Regions from separate parts of the Homo sapiens genome. Here all the other regions are linked to region 2. Evidence: promoter capture Hi-C in human tissues and cell types (Jung and others, 2019). All regions are on one chromosome and are shown on one strand. The core of a region is centred on a gene start or on the middle of the fragment in contact, and the rest is flanking DNA. Distances in the headings are between cores, read along the strand shown. Region 1 overlaps GALNT1 (polypeptide N-acetylgalactosaminyltransferase 1). Region 2 holds the start of INO80C (INO80 complex subunit C). Region 3 overlaps LOC105372064 (a long non-coding RNA gene). Region 4 overlaps ZSCAN30 (zinc finger and SCAN domain containing 30). Region 5 overlaps GALNT1 (polypeptide N-acetylgalactosaminyltransferase 1).

Region 1 (2,700 bases), core at 157-2,656, 170 kb after region 2:
CAGCTCACTGAATTTTTTGCTATGTATACACCTGTGTAACCATCAGCCAAATCAAGACATAGAATGATCCCATCACCCCTGAAAGTCTCCTTATGTTTTTTGTAGTCATTACTTACATCCCCAGAGGCAGCCGTTATATTGACCTCTCTAAACATAGATTAGTTTTGTCTCTTTTTGAACTTTTTATGATGGATCCACACCATTTTTTGTGCCTTTAAGATTCATATTGTTGCATGTATCAGAATTTTATTCTTTTCTACTGCAAATAGTGATTTGTAATATGAATATGCCATTGTTTATTTATACATTGATAGACCTTTGGATTATTTCTACTTTTTGACCCCTATAAATAAAGCTATTGTGACATTCTTGTTCATGTCTTTTGGAGGACTTAAGTGCCCATTACCGTATGCTATGTACTAGAGAAAGGAATAGGTTATGCATTTATATAGCATTAGCATGTGCTACCAAATATTTTCCCAAAATGTTTATACCAATTTACACTCCTATCAGCAATATATTAGTTAGATGTCTAGTTGCTCCATAAGAAGAAGGTAATACAAGGTACTAGAGTACCATAGGCCCAGTTAAAAGCAAGCAAACTATACAGAAAATAGGTAGAGTAAGTGAACATGTACATTCTGTGCTGAGGCCCCCTAAACTCCTTGCTCTCATTGATGCTGGCAGCCAAGCTTGCCTCCTCCAGAGAAGAGACTGGAAGATCTTTCTCATCAGAATTGGATAGGCCTAGAGAGAAGGGTAAGTACCTAGTGTGGTCCTGATAGTATATGAATGAAAAGTATGTGCTGAATTTCCAACAAATTGCACTTTAGTGCTGATTGACTTGGGAAAGTTTCCAACTTAATGGCACAGCCTGATCACCCTTATGGAAACTCATAGTCATTGAGTCCTACTCATGTGTTTAGGCCTCATATTCAGCCTCTTGGTCTTCCATTCTTAATAACAAATAGGTAAGCAAGGAATACTAGACATCTCAGGAAACCCTCAACAAACAGAGAAAAGCAACTTTGAGGAAACAAAAACTATTAAGGTAGAACACATAAAGAGAAATAACTAATAACCTCAACAAAATAGAGAATATATTACAACCATAAAATGAGAATAGGATATTATTCAAAAGATACACTGAGAGAACCAGAAAGAGCTTTTGAAAATAAAGAAAAATGCACCAAAGAGATGGACAACAGTAAAATTATATGAACATTGAAATAACAATCAAGAAATCCAATATTTTAATAATAGGAGTCTCAAAAAGAATTTTAAAAATAGGGAAGAGAAAATTTATCCACAAAATTTTCCATAACTGAACTGCACAAATTTTCAAATTGAAAGAGCCCACCAACTTTTTGGGACAATAGATGAAAATAGACTGTACTCCAAGACATTGTGACTTTCAGAACACTGAGGATTTCAACCCCCAGGGGGGAAAAAAGACCTTTTACAGGTTTCTTAAGAGGCGAAAGAAGGTCACAATCAAAAGGTTATTAATCAGAATGCCTTCAGACTTCTCAGCAACTCTAGAAACAAAGGAGCAAAATTCTAAAGGAAAATAATTTCCAATCTAAAATCTTATATTCAGCCAAACTTGCAATAAAGTGCACAGGTTAAATAAGGATATTTTTGGACATGCAAGATCTCAAAACATTGAACTCCCAAGCATCCATTCTCAGGAAGTTACTAGAGATAGGACGCTACCATTTAAAACCTTGGTTTTAAATAAACCAAGGACAAGAGAGACATAGAATGTAAAAAACAGGAGATTCAGCTTGTGTAAGAAATGGTGAGAATGACCAGAAGGTGATGAAGGGAGAGCCTGAGTGAGAGTTGCACAGGCAGAGGCGACCAGCCCAGATGGAGCCAGTGAGAAAATTCCAGAAGAGACTTCAAAAAGATACCATTGAAGTTACACCTGATATGGCTGAATGTCTAGAGTAGATTTAGACAATTGATAGGAAGTTTGGGATTGAAATACATAGAAAACCATAGTAAGAAAAAAATTAAATGAGCATTACCTTCAGGGAAAACTTTAAAAAAATTGTTCAGAGAAAACAAAAGTAATCATAGTTTACTACTACATGGCTTAGCCATGAATAAGTCATAATAAGGTAACTGTTGAATATTGTGCATGTAAAAATTAAACCAAGGAGATGAAGAGTATCTCTTTATCTGGCAAGTTGATTAAGTGGAGATCAGTCAAGAGAAGCTTAATTTGTAAAGATTTTTCACAAACCATTTGCTTTCCTGAAAATTTAAACATTGTTGAAGAAAACTATAGACTCTCCACAGTCTACAGTTAAAATGATGCCTGTATTATAAACAACCTTACATTTACTTCAAGAGCCTCAATCAACTATTATTGTTTCTGGTAGAATTGTTTTTGTCATTTTAATAACCCCCCTAAGTATATCACCACTCTTAACACATTTTATTAAATATTTATGTCTTTTTGTCTTTATGTGGTTTTTGAAGATACTTTTATTAATGAGTGCCTTTTAAGTGCATTGTAAGTCACCAGTTTTTGGACATTGAACAGCTTTATGATATTAGGAATAGTGTTGAAATGGTGTGATACAAATGCTTGTGCACCAAGTTTCACACTTGAAGACTCTTCAGACTTGACGAAGTCCACTTTTGTGAAAGCTGCCAATACACAGTCCTTCTGGCCAACTGCTGGGTCTC
Region 2 (2,700 bases), core at 162-2,661:
TCTGTAGTTTTGTTTTGTTTTGTTTTGTTTGCGATAGGCTCACTCTGTTGCCCAAGCTGGACTGCAATGGCACGATCATAGCTCGCTGTAACCTTGAAATCTTGGGCTTAAGTGATGCTCTTGTAGTTGGGACTAAAGGCGTGCACCATCACGCCCAGCTATTTGTAAATTTGGATGGGGGTTGGGGAGCAGGTCTCGAACTCCTGTCCTCAAGCAATCCTCTCACCTTGGCCTCTCAAAGTGCTGGGATACAGGCGTGAGACAGGATTCTTGAAGATCTGTGGTTCAGCCAGTATTCTTGAAAATTTGTGCATTGTACTCTGTGTAAATCTTACTATAGCAAAGTATTTAATATTAAAAGGTTAAAATAAAAAGCACTACCAATCACCTACAGAAGAAGGAACAAGATTTCTAGAACAGCCACTGACTGACTGGGTGAACGGTGGTGTCACACCATATGCTGAGGAGCACAAAGTAACACACTCTATCTCTGCTTTTTTGCTTTGAATAAAATGCAGGAGCCAGAGAAAACACTAATCAAGCCACTCCCTGCTGAAAATTCATTGCTGGAATTACGGAACCTAGATTGTTCAGAGGCCCTGACGTCTGAGCCAGGCGCTGAGCTCAGTGCCTTTACACTCATTACTTCATAACCTTAACAAGCCCATGAGTTAAGACCAAACCTGCCTTTGGATTGGGAAACCCAGGGTCAAAAAAGCACTTTTCTCAGGATGAGAGAAAGCATACTTATCAATACATCTTGTATTCATCCATGCAGGACATTACAGCGCTATGCGCCTCAAAGACACTGGGTAGATGTCTGCAGAATGGACGAGGGGAAGACACGCAAATTTCTGAATGACTGACACTCATTAGTCCTGAACCTCATGCTAAAGGCGACCTCGAGGGGAAGAGGCAGTCCTTCTATTAATACTAAGTCAGTAATAACCTCCCTACTTCTTCTTCTCTCCTTACAACACAAGGCGTTGTAAGCCCATGTGTCCAAACGAAGGGAAAGAGTAGTCATTCACTCCGCGGGGCAGCGTCTTTCAACCCCAACGGAGACCGCACGCGCAGCGCCCCACATTACGCACGCGCCCTGGCTCGGCTCCGCCCCGCCAAGTCCCGTTTCGCGACGCGCACGCGCAGCCTGGGAGCGCGACTGCGTACCTGCGCAAAGCTGGAAGCGGACGCTTTTTTCTTCTTACTGGCGCCATAGCCCCCGCCGCTGCTGCCATTGTGGGAAGGGCTGGCCGGCCTCTTCTTGCTGTTCCGGACTATTCCGGGAGTGGAAGTGGTGGCCACAATTGGAATTTGCGCCGCCATCGCACTCCGAGTCTTCCCCTGGTCCCCCCACCTTTTTCCCAGCGCGGGCCTTGGAACTTCCTTTCCGCTGTTACTTCCGTCTTGATGCTTGAAAACCCGGCCTGGACTCCAAGCTGTAGCTGGCTTCTCTCGGTGCAATCTAAAAGGCGGAGCTCGGAGTAGCCTGTGCCGTCGGGACGGGAAGATGTCAGCGGGCGTTGTCCTGCCACTCGGGCGCTCTGGGCGTGGGCCTTGGGTGGGGCACGTGCCTGGAAATCCCCATTGATAGAGGAATAGAAAATCTCCCAATCTTTTTAAGTAACTACGTTTTAAAAAATTAATGAGCGTGTTGTCTTTTCTCATATAGAAGAGTGATTACTTTTGATGTCTGTAAGCCTAAAGCTGGGGTCGTTCTCAGTAGACCGCCAAGCTACTGGCTTCTCCCTCTATCCCTCCCTGCCTTCCCACGCGGAAAAGGTTTGTATATAAATAGCGCCCAAATGGACATGAAGGGTAGAGTGGTTCTTAATCTCTCCCTTTTTTTTTTTCTTTTATTTGAGACGGAGTTTCGCTCTTGTTGTCCAGGCTGGAGTGCAATGGCGCGATCTCGGCTCACTGCAAACTCCGCCTCCCGGGTTCAAGCGATTCTCCTGCCTCAGCCTCCCGAGTAGCTGGGATCACAGGCATGTGCCACCATGCCCGGCTAATTTTGTATTTTTAGTAGAGACGGGGTTTCTCCATGTTGGTCAGGCTGGTCTCGAGCTCCCGACCTCAGGTGATCTGCCCGCCTCGGCCTCCCTAAGTGCTGGGATTACAGGCGTAAGCCACCACGCCCGGCCGGTTCTTAATCTCTTAGGATTCACAGACTCTTGAGCATGGAATCTGTGCTTCCTATCCCTGCCGCACACCCCCACCTCCCCACCACCCCATTAAATGTATACAGACACAGACAAAATTTTACAGATTTCAGGGAGGTCACAGATCTACTAAAACCTATTTAGGAACCTGAGTCCCCCTACCCGCCTTGTTCTTTGCCTCATTCTACCCTATATTTTTACAGAACCTTTGCGACATCATATAACTAAATGATTTATAATCGGATGGTTAATGTCTTTTTTGGCTCCTGCTAGAATGTAATCTGTATGAGGGAAGGGTCAGTTATGTCTTGTTAACTTATCAGTCCCCCCAATCACAGTACCTTGCAAGTCATTGGTGCATTATAAGTATTTTTAATGATGTATTTAACGAATGAACTAACTCCCTGCAGTGATTGGTGGAAGCTACTATGTTTGAATACAGGAAGTTGATGTATATGAGTCTTGATATTTGAAATAAACAGGCTGCACAATGACTTAGAGGTGAGAGAGAAGGAGCAGTTAGGGAAACTTGCAATAT
Region 3 (2,700 bases), core at 120-2,619, 220 kb after region 2:
TTATTAGAATATCTGTTACAGGGTTCAGTGGTATTTGATGATACTATTGTAATTGTTTGGGGGCATCACAGACTACACCCGTATGAGAGGATGAACTTAAATGATAAATTGTGTGTGTGTGCATGCATGTGTGCGTGCATGTGGACTGTTACACTCATTGGTCCTTCTGCTGTCTCTCTCCCTCTCCTCAGCCCTCTTTATTCCCTGGGACACAGAAATTTTTAAATAAGGCCAATTAATAATCCTACATTGGTCTCTTACGTGTTAGAGTGAAAAGAAGATTCACATATCTCTCATTTTAAATTGAAAGCTAGAAATGATTAAGCTTAGTGAGGAAGCCATGTTGAAAGCTGAGATAGTCCAAAAACTAGGCCTCTTGCACCAGTTAGCCAAGTTGTGAATGCAAAAGAAAAGTGCCTGGAGGATATTTAAAATGCTGCTCCAGTGAACACACAAACGATAGGAAAGCAAAATAGCCTTATTGCTGATATGGAGAAAGTTTTAATGGTCTGGATAGAAGATCAAACCAACTGCAACATTTCCTTAAGCAAAATCCTAATTCAGAACACAGCCATAGCTGTCTCCAATTCTATGAAGACAGAGCAGAGAGGAAGCTGTGGAAGTAAAGTTTGAAAATAAGAGGTTGTTCATGAGGTATAAGGAAAGAAGACATCTCCATAACATAAAAGTGTAAGGTGAAACATCAAGTGCGAATACAGAAGCTGCAGCAAGTTATCCAGAAAATCTAAGATCATTGAAGAAGGTGGCTACACTAAACAATAGATTTTCAATATAGACAAAAGAGCCTTCTGTTGATTTTAGGCATCTAGCCTAAAATGGAAGAAGATGCCATCTAGGACTTTAATGGGTAGAGAGGAGAAGTTGATACCTGTCTTCAAAGTAAAGACTGACTCTTTTGTTAGGGGCTGTTGCAGCTGGTGACATTAAGTTGAAGCCAATGCTCATTCACCATTCCAGAAATCCTTGTGCCCTTAAGAATTATGCTAAATCTACTCTGACTGTGTTCTACAAGTAGAACAACAAAGCCTGGATGACAGCATATCTGTTTATAGCATGGTTTACTAAATATTTTAAGCCCACTGTTGAGACCTACTGCTCAGAAAAAAAGATTCCTTTCAAAACATTACTGCTCATTGACAGTGCACCTAGTTACCCAAGAGCTCTGATGGAGATGTAAAACAAGATTAATATTTTCATGCCTGCTAACACAGCATTCATTCTGCAGCCCATGACCAAGGATTAATTCAGACTTTCAAGTCTTATTATTTAAGAAATAAGATTTAATAAGGCTATAGCTGTCATGGATAGTGATTTCTCTGATAGACCTGGGCAAAGTAAATTGAAAACCTTCTGAAAAGGATCCACCATTCTAAATTCCATTAAGAACATTCATGATTCATGAGAGGGGGTCAAATACCAACACGAACAGGAGTTTGGAAGAAGTTGATTCCAACCTTCATGGGTGACTTTGAGGGATCCAAAACTTCAGTAGAGGAAATACCTGCAGATGTAGAAATAGCAAGAGAACTAGAATTATCCTGAAGATGTGTCTGAATACTTCAATCTCATCATAAAACTTGAATTGATGAAGAGTTGCTTCTTATGGATGAGCAAAGAAAATGTTTTCTTGAGATGAAATCCTCGTGGTGAAAATGCTGTGAACATAGTAGAAATGACAACAAAAGATTTGTAATATTCCATAAAGTTAGTTGATAAAGCAGAGGGAAGGTTTAAGAAAACCCCAATTTTGAAAGAACTTCTGCTGTGGGTAAGATGCTATCATATAGCATCAGAAAAATCTTCTGTGAAAGGAAGGCTCAATCAATGTAGCAAATTTCATTGTCTTATTTTAAGAAATTTCTACAACCACCCAACCTTCAGCAACCACCACCTTGAACAGTCAACAGCCATCAACATTGAGGCAAGACTCTCCACTAACAAAAAGATTGGGACTCATTAAAGACTCAGGTGAACATTAGCATTTTTTGGCAGTAAAGTATTTTTAATTAAGAATATACATTGTTTTGTTTTTAGACATAATGGTATTGCACACTTAGGCTACAGTATAGTGTAAACATAACTTTTATATGCACTGGGAAACAAAAAATTGTGTGACTCACTTTATTAATGCAATATTCACTTTACTGCTGTTGTGTGGAACTGAACCTGCAATATCTCTGAGGTGTGCCTGTAGATGCAAATAGCCTCTACAGGATACTAGTAAACCAAATGCAGCAGCATATTAAAAGGATTATACACCATGATGAAGTGGTATTTATCCTATGGATGCAAAGTTGTTTTAACATTTGAAAATCAATCCATGTGATACACCATGTTAATAGAATAAAGAACAAAAGCCACATGATCATCTTAATAAAGAACAGGAAATCCAACATGCTTTTACGGTTAAAACAAACAAAACCGGGACTAAAAGGGAATGTCCTCGATTTGATAATGGGCCCCAATGAAAAGTCCACAGCTATCATCATATTTAATGGTGAAAGACTGGATGCTTTTCCCCTAAGATCAGGAACATGACAAGGATGTCTATTCTTGCCACATCTATTCAACATTGTACTGAAAGTTCTAGCCAGAACAACTAGTCAAGAAAATGCACCCAGATTGAAGAGGAAGAAATAAAACTGTTTTTGCAGATGACATCATTTTGTATCTAGAAAA
Region 4 (2,700 bases), core at 20-2,519, 230 kb before region 2:
CTGTAGTCCTAGCTACTCTGGAGGCTGAGGCAGGAGGATCACTTTAACCCAGGGGTTCAAGGCTGCTGCAGTGAGCTGTGGTTGCACCACTGCACTCCAACCTGGGTGATAGAGTGAGACCCCATCTAAAAAAAAAAAAAAGAAAAAAGAAAAAGAAAAAAAATAATTATGGGTATTAGAGAATTTTACTAAAGACTTTAATTCTTAACCCAAAGTTACAAATGATACTGGAATTTCAGATTCTAGGCAGAGCCTAAGGAAGAATATTTCTAGGCAAAGAAGCCTTTCCACAATACTTAGTGATAGCCACAAGTGGCTGTCGTTAAGAAAATGAACCGTGCCACAGTTGATAGCTCTCACCTCCATCCTCAACCCCACATGGACTGGGGCTTCTCACCTCTCTCCTGGAAAGCCTGGGACTCCTGAGTCTCAGTCTTGCACTGGTTCTCTAAGGGCTGCACCGGGCTATTCAGAGACAGAGACTTCAGTGCTCCTGTGGATGTCATTTCCTGCCAGAACATTTCTTGGCCATGAGTTGTGTCCTAGGAGTAATCAAGTACCAGCACTATCATTCTGAGGATACACAAGCAGAAAACTCCTAGAGCAACAGGGCAGGAACAGAAGAATCAAAAACTCATTCAAATGATTAGAGAGAAAAAAAACAGGACCTTAAGAGCCCTAGTGACTTGAACCCAATGAGTGAATAATTAATAACCCAAAAGAAAGAAACTGTATAATTCTCTGAGAGCTGAGTCAATGCCCCAGTCATAATTATGGCTTCCCCATTAACTTACAATAGATCAAACAAACAAAAATGTTTACTTCTTACCTGTTGCCTTGGCTCCTCCAGTTCTTTTTCCAGCTCCTCCAGCATAGTCACAGCTTCCTCTCCATTCTCTGGCCGATGCTCTCGCAGCCAAGCTTGCAGCTCCTCAGGAAGGATGGCCAGGAACTGCTCCAACATCAGCAGCTCCAGGATCTGCTCCTTGGAGTGCACCTCCGGCCTCAACCACTGACAGCAAAGCTCTCGCAGCCGGCTCAGAGCCTCCCGAGGGCCAGTGGAGTCAGAGTAACTAAACTGCCTGAACTTCTGCCGGAATACCTCTTGGCTCCAGGGGTTTTCCTGAAGGCCAAAGTCCTGGTCCAAAACATAATTTTCTTCTTCAACCTTGACAACTAGAAGTCCTTCCTGTTCTTCTGGAGCATGGTAGGCCAAGACTGTGGCCTCTCCTGACATTCTGGGCAGAGACAGTCTGAAAAGGCTGCCCAGGTGAGGCAGGGAGGAGATGGAGATTTGCGTCTGAGAGATTCCTTCTGAATTCCAACTCCCCAGGACGCTCCTGAGGGTGGACAATGCTCATGTTACACAGGGAAAATAATGTACTTGGAATATAAATACAGGTTTTTGAAGCCCAGTTGCCAGGGAGCATAGCATTGTAAAGAAAACTGACTAACAGGGCACTTCCACATAAATGATACATTTATAGATGACTCAGGATTTTTTTAGGATGTGAAAGAAAAATGTTAGTATGGCTGAAATCAATTTGGCCTTTAGTAATACTGTTAGGAACAACATTAGGGATAATAAAATAGTGCTTGTAGATTATAGAGAGCAAGAAAAGCACTATAGTATATGATTACATCTCAGAAATAACCACCATTTTATTGATCACTAGCTTGATACTTAACATAAATTTTATATGCTTTTCCTAACAACTCTATAAGGACAATCAAAATTATGCCCATTTTTGCCAGGCACGGTGGCTCACGCCTGTAATCCTAGCACTTTGGGAGGCCGAGGCGGGAGGATCACGAGGTCAGAAGATCGAGACCATCCTGGCTAACATGGTGAAACCCCATCTCTACTAAAAATACAAAAAATTAGCCGGGCGTGGTGGCGGGCGCCTATAGTCCCAGCTACTTGGGAGGCTGAGGCAGGAGAATGGCATGAACCCGGGAGGGGGAGCTTGCAGTGAGCCAAGATGGCGCCACTGCACTCCAGCCTGGGCAACAGAGACTCCGCCTCAGAAAAAAAAAAAAAAATTACGCCCATTTTCCTAACGAGGCTACTAAGTCATAAGTTGACCAAAGACAGCCAGGGAGCAGCAGAACTGGGCTCTGCAACCAAAGTCTTTAGCTCTTTCTATTATGCTATGGGGCATCCCAAAAGAAGGGAACTCACACTTAATAAACACCTACTATGGGCCAAGCACTTTACAAATACTATTTTACTGGAGCTTGACAATAACACCATCAGGTATTATCATCTCAATTTTACAAATGAGGAAACTAAGGTTCTTAAAAGCCAAGTAATTTGTCCAAGGCTACAAACTGGTAAATAGCAAAGTCGAGACATGAACCCAGGCTGCAACTCTACAGTACTTGCTCTTTTTATTTCTTTTTATTACAGAATGGGTTGATGCCCAGGACAATCTTGGCTGATACTAAATCAGAAATGATGGTGAAAATGTTAGGAAGGGATCATGGAGAATGGGCAAGGTGAATGTAGAAACAAGGAAAAATTATTCTTGACTTTTAAGTCGCAAGGTTCTGAAACAGCACAAAGAAAAATGGATTCTTTCAACAAATACTTCAGCATTTACTCTGTGCTAGATAGCGTACCAAAGAGCAGTCTCAGAATTAAAAGATGTGTACCAAAGGACTCTTAGTTTATTATGGGAAAGCAACACGTAAACACAG
Region 5 (2,700 bases), core at 32-2,531, 190 kb after region 2:
AGATTCCCTAGTTGTTTTTAATTTTTATTATTTTCAAGGAAGTAATTTAAGCTCTAAAAGCTAATATATAGTTTGGATATGCTACTTTGCTGCTTTACTCTCAAAAACATAAATTTCACATTTAAACATAAATTTCACATTTTGTAATATGCTTTTTATTTTAGTGTGAAAATTTTTTTTATATAAAACCTAGTCACTTTACCAGCTTTATATTTTTCAATAAAAATGCGAAAGAATTCTAAAATGACTCTAAATTAATTTAACCCAGTCTACATATAAAGTCTTTGCATTTCATGTTCACTAGAATCAACATATCGTTTAAATGGCATTGCATATTTTTGCAAATAACCAACTTTAGACACATAGCTTATTATAGTGGAAATCACACTGACGTGTACTGTAATCTGAACCAGCGAGCTCACTTTGTTCCCAGTGAATCGCTTTGCCTTCTTGTCAAAGAGAGGGTTGGACTCAATATCACCTTGGAGATCCTATCCAGCTCTAACACTTATAATCCTGGGAAAACTTGAAGGTAGGAACACTGAATATTTAACAAAATCAGAACTTTCCAAAATGTTATTTTAATTATAAAGAGTTATGAGATTTTTAACTTGGTGGGGGGAATGTATTTTGAAAGAAACAGAAGGATTTCATTAAATTAAGGATGTAAGCCCATACTTGATCATCTTTCTTCTGCCCCTTTTTTTGTTTTTATTGTTCTAACAAAGACAACAAAACATGCTTTTACTGTCTCACTGAAGAACTTACAATGGATCTAGTTGAGATTCCTAGGTTCTGTTTCATGTACAAGCCGTGACGCAGGTTTGGAGAGGGGTGAACAGATGAGCATCTGGCTGGTTACTCCATGGTCAGGTTTTGTTTGGTGGTTGTTTTTAACCATGAGCCACATTAATAAATACATTATACATTCTGCACACACAAAACATAAAATTTAAACATTTTATGAAACAGTATGTCCTTGTTAACAAGTACAGGTTGCAATTCATCAATTTGAATTTATGATTCTCTTAGGTATAATGGCCTGCAGTTAGAAAAATACTGCTCTAGATCCCATATCTTTTCTGTATTTAGCCTTTAACCTATGTTTTCTTTATTTTAATCTTCAACTTTTGGTTTGATCAGAACCCAAATTAGAGAAATGTTTCTCTTGAGGAAGCACTGGCTTTGTAACCTAACCATACAGCCGGAGCCCATCATGTGCCCCTGATTTTGCGAAATTCCAACTGTGGAACCCAATAGATGTCAATACTTTTTTAAAAACTATCAATGTCATATATGGTCTTTGCTGTTATTTTCAGATTTGGTAGTATGGAGGTACTTTGGAAGCTTTTTACCAGTAACTACAATATGTTCCATTTAAGTTTAAACAAAAGCCAAACCCCTATTTAATTGAAAAGAAAAATACTATGGGAAAACTAAGGTGAACATTTCCTGATTACTCAGCTACATGTTACATGGTCATCTCTGCTGTTTTCAGATTTGGCAGTGTGGAGGAACTTTGGAAATTGTTACATGCTCACATGTTGGACATGTGTTTCGGAAAGCTACACCTTACACGTTTCCAGGAGGCACAGGGCAGATTATCAATAAAAATAACAGACGACTTGCAGAAGTGTGGATGGATGAATTCAAGAATTTCTTCTATATAATTTCTCCAGGTTAGCGTTGTTTTGCATTAGAAATACAAGGCTGTACCTTTGTTGACCCTGATCCTGGAGGAGAAGTAAGAAGGTTAGAAGTGAAGCTTTGAGCAGAGGTGAACACCTGCCTCATAAGGTCATTGTAAGGAATGAATGAAATCACACACAGTATAGAAAGTGCTTGGCAGAATGCCTAGAATAATATATAATTAACAGTAATAAATTATCCAGGTCAGTGTTGCTAGCCCAGGTTTTGCAGATGTTCTATTTTTTTTAAAACCTAACTGCAACATTTAGTATTTATTCCTGTGAAGTTTCATCTTGTTAAATTTTCAGCCATTTTTCTAGCTTATATGACTTTTTCTTGATTCTTGGAGTTTTCATTCAACATAACAAAACCACTGTTTTTGCAGTGGGTCATGAACGTTCTCTATAAGCAGGCCCTCAATGCTGTCATAGGAGGCTTTCGTCAAGTATCACAAGGCCACTGAGAGCCCAAAACGTGCCACAGGGCCTTCTTTCCGGAAACTTTGCTATTCAGAGTTTTGTAGGAACAGTTGTTCCATCAGCTATAAGTCGGCCTGACATTGTTACTAGTCCATCCTTATTTTTTAGTTACTGCAAGACTGTCAAGTGGCAGGGTGCACAGTTCAGTGAGTTGTGTGAGAGAAGCCTGACTGCAAACAATTGCTCTGTTTAATATTTGAGCAAAATAGACCTTGATTTTTTTGTTTGTGCCTTAACATATATTGAAGTTTACTGATCCCATATCACTTATATTTCATTCTCACATAAATGTCATTTTTCTCTGAAAAATTAAAACACATTTTAATGTATTTTCCTTGCTTTATACTTTTGGTGGATTCATGGTGTCTCCACTTGTATAGTCACATATCACCCAGCTGATACCACTGTTCTGATTCATCTGGCTTATTAGATTCAATATATAAACATGTGTTACCTAAAACAACACTAATAATTCAGAGTCAATTATTTCTTTCAACAGGTGTTACAAAGGTAGATTATGGAGATATATCGT

What was found. The method cuts DNA at HindIII sites, captures the fragments that hold promoters and counts their contacts. A contact is called where the count stands out against the background at its distance.
Region 1: a contact is called between a fragment that was not itself captured here and the fragment with the promoter of INO80C in region 2, in 2 of the 25 tissues and cell types used here (H1 embryonic stem cells and dorsolateral prefrontal cortex).
Region 3: a contact is called between a fragment that was not itself captured here and the fragment with the promoter of INO80C in region 2, in 2 of the 25 tissues and cell types used here (IMR-90 fibroblasts and dorsolateral prefrontal cortex).
Region 4: a fragment that was not itself captured here is called in contact with the fragment with the promoter of INO80C in region 2 in 1 of the 25 tissues and cell types used here (dorsolateral prefrontal cortex).
Region 5: a fragment that was not itself captured here is called in contact with the fragment with the promoter of INO80C in region 2 in 1 of the 25 tissues and cell types used here (spleen).

Annotation. Positions count from the first base shown.
Region 1 is chr18:35,664,147-35,666,846 of GRCh38, forward strand. All of the region lies in intron 3 of GALNT1 (polypeptide N-acetylgalactosaminyltransferase 1), which reads left to right. LOC105372065 (a long non-coding RNA gene) reads right to left here. Exons shown (of 2, transcript XR_935378.4): 2 at 2,477-2,700. Among named protein-coding and RNA genes, the nearest start is that of MIR3975, 74 kb to the left of the region's middle. The HindIII fragment of the contact is 5,015 bases long and covers 1-2,700 here.
Region 2 is chr18:35,496,549-35,499,248 of GRCh38, forward strand. INO80C (INO80 complex subunit C) reads right to left here and starts at 1,412. Exons shown (of 5, transcript NM_194281.4): 1 at 1,171-1,412. The coding sequence starts at 1,326. RefSeq lists enhancers at 430-579, 850-969, 1,320-1,589. The HindIII fragment of the contact is 7,991 bases long and covers 1-2,700 here.
Region 3 is chr18:35,718,074-35,720,773 of GRCh38, forward strand. LOC105372064 (a long non-coding RNA gene) reads right to left here. Exons shown (of 5, transcript XR_935377.3): 2 at 1-1,676. Among named protein-coding and RNA genes, the nearest start is that of MIR3975, 130 kb to the left of the region's middle. The HindIII fragment of the contact is 4,490 bases long and covers 1-2,700 here.
Region 4 is chr18:35,263,116-35,265,815 of GRCh38, forward strand. It overlaps ZSCAN30 (zinc finger and SCAN domain containing 30), which reads right to left. Exons shown (of 4, transcript NM_001112734.4): 2 at 830-1,340; 3 at 398-542. The coding sequence starts at 1,237. Among named protein-coding and RNA genes, the nearest start is that of ZNF397, 23 kb to the left of the region's middle. The HindIII fragment of the contact is 4,751 bases long and covers 1-2,700 here.
Region 5 is chr18:35,689,514-35,692,213 of GRCh38, forward strand. It overlaps GALNT1 (polypeptide N-acetylgalactosaminyltransferase 1), which reads left to right. Exons shown (of 12, transcript NM_020474.4): 8 at 1,499-1,679; 9 at 2,668-2,700. It overlaps LOC105372064 (a long non-coding RNA gene), which reads right to left. Exons shown (of 5, transcript XR_935377.3): 5 at 563-930. Among named protein-coding and RNA genes, the nearest start is that of MIR3975, 99 kb to the left of the region's middle. The HindIII fragment of the contact is 3,097 bases long and covers 1-2,700 here.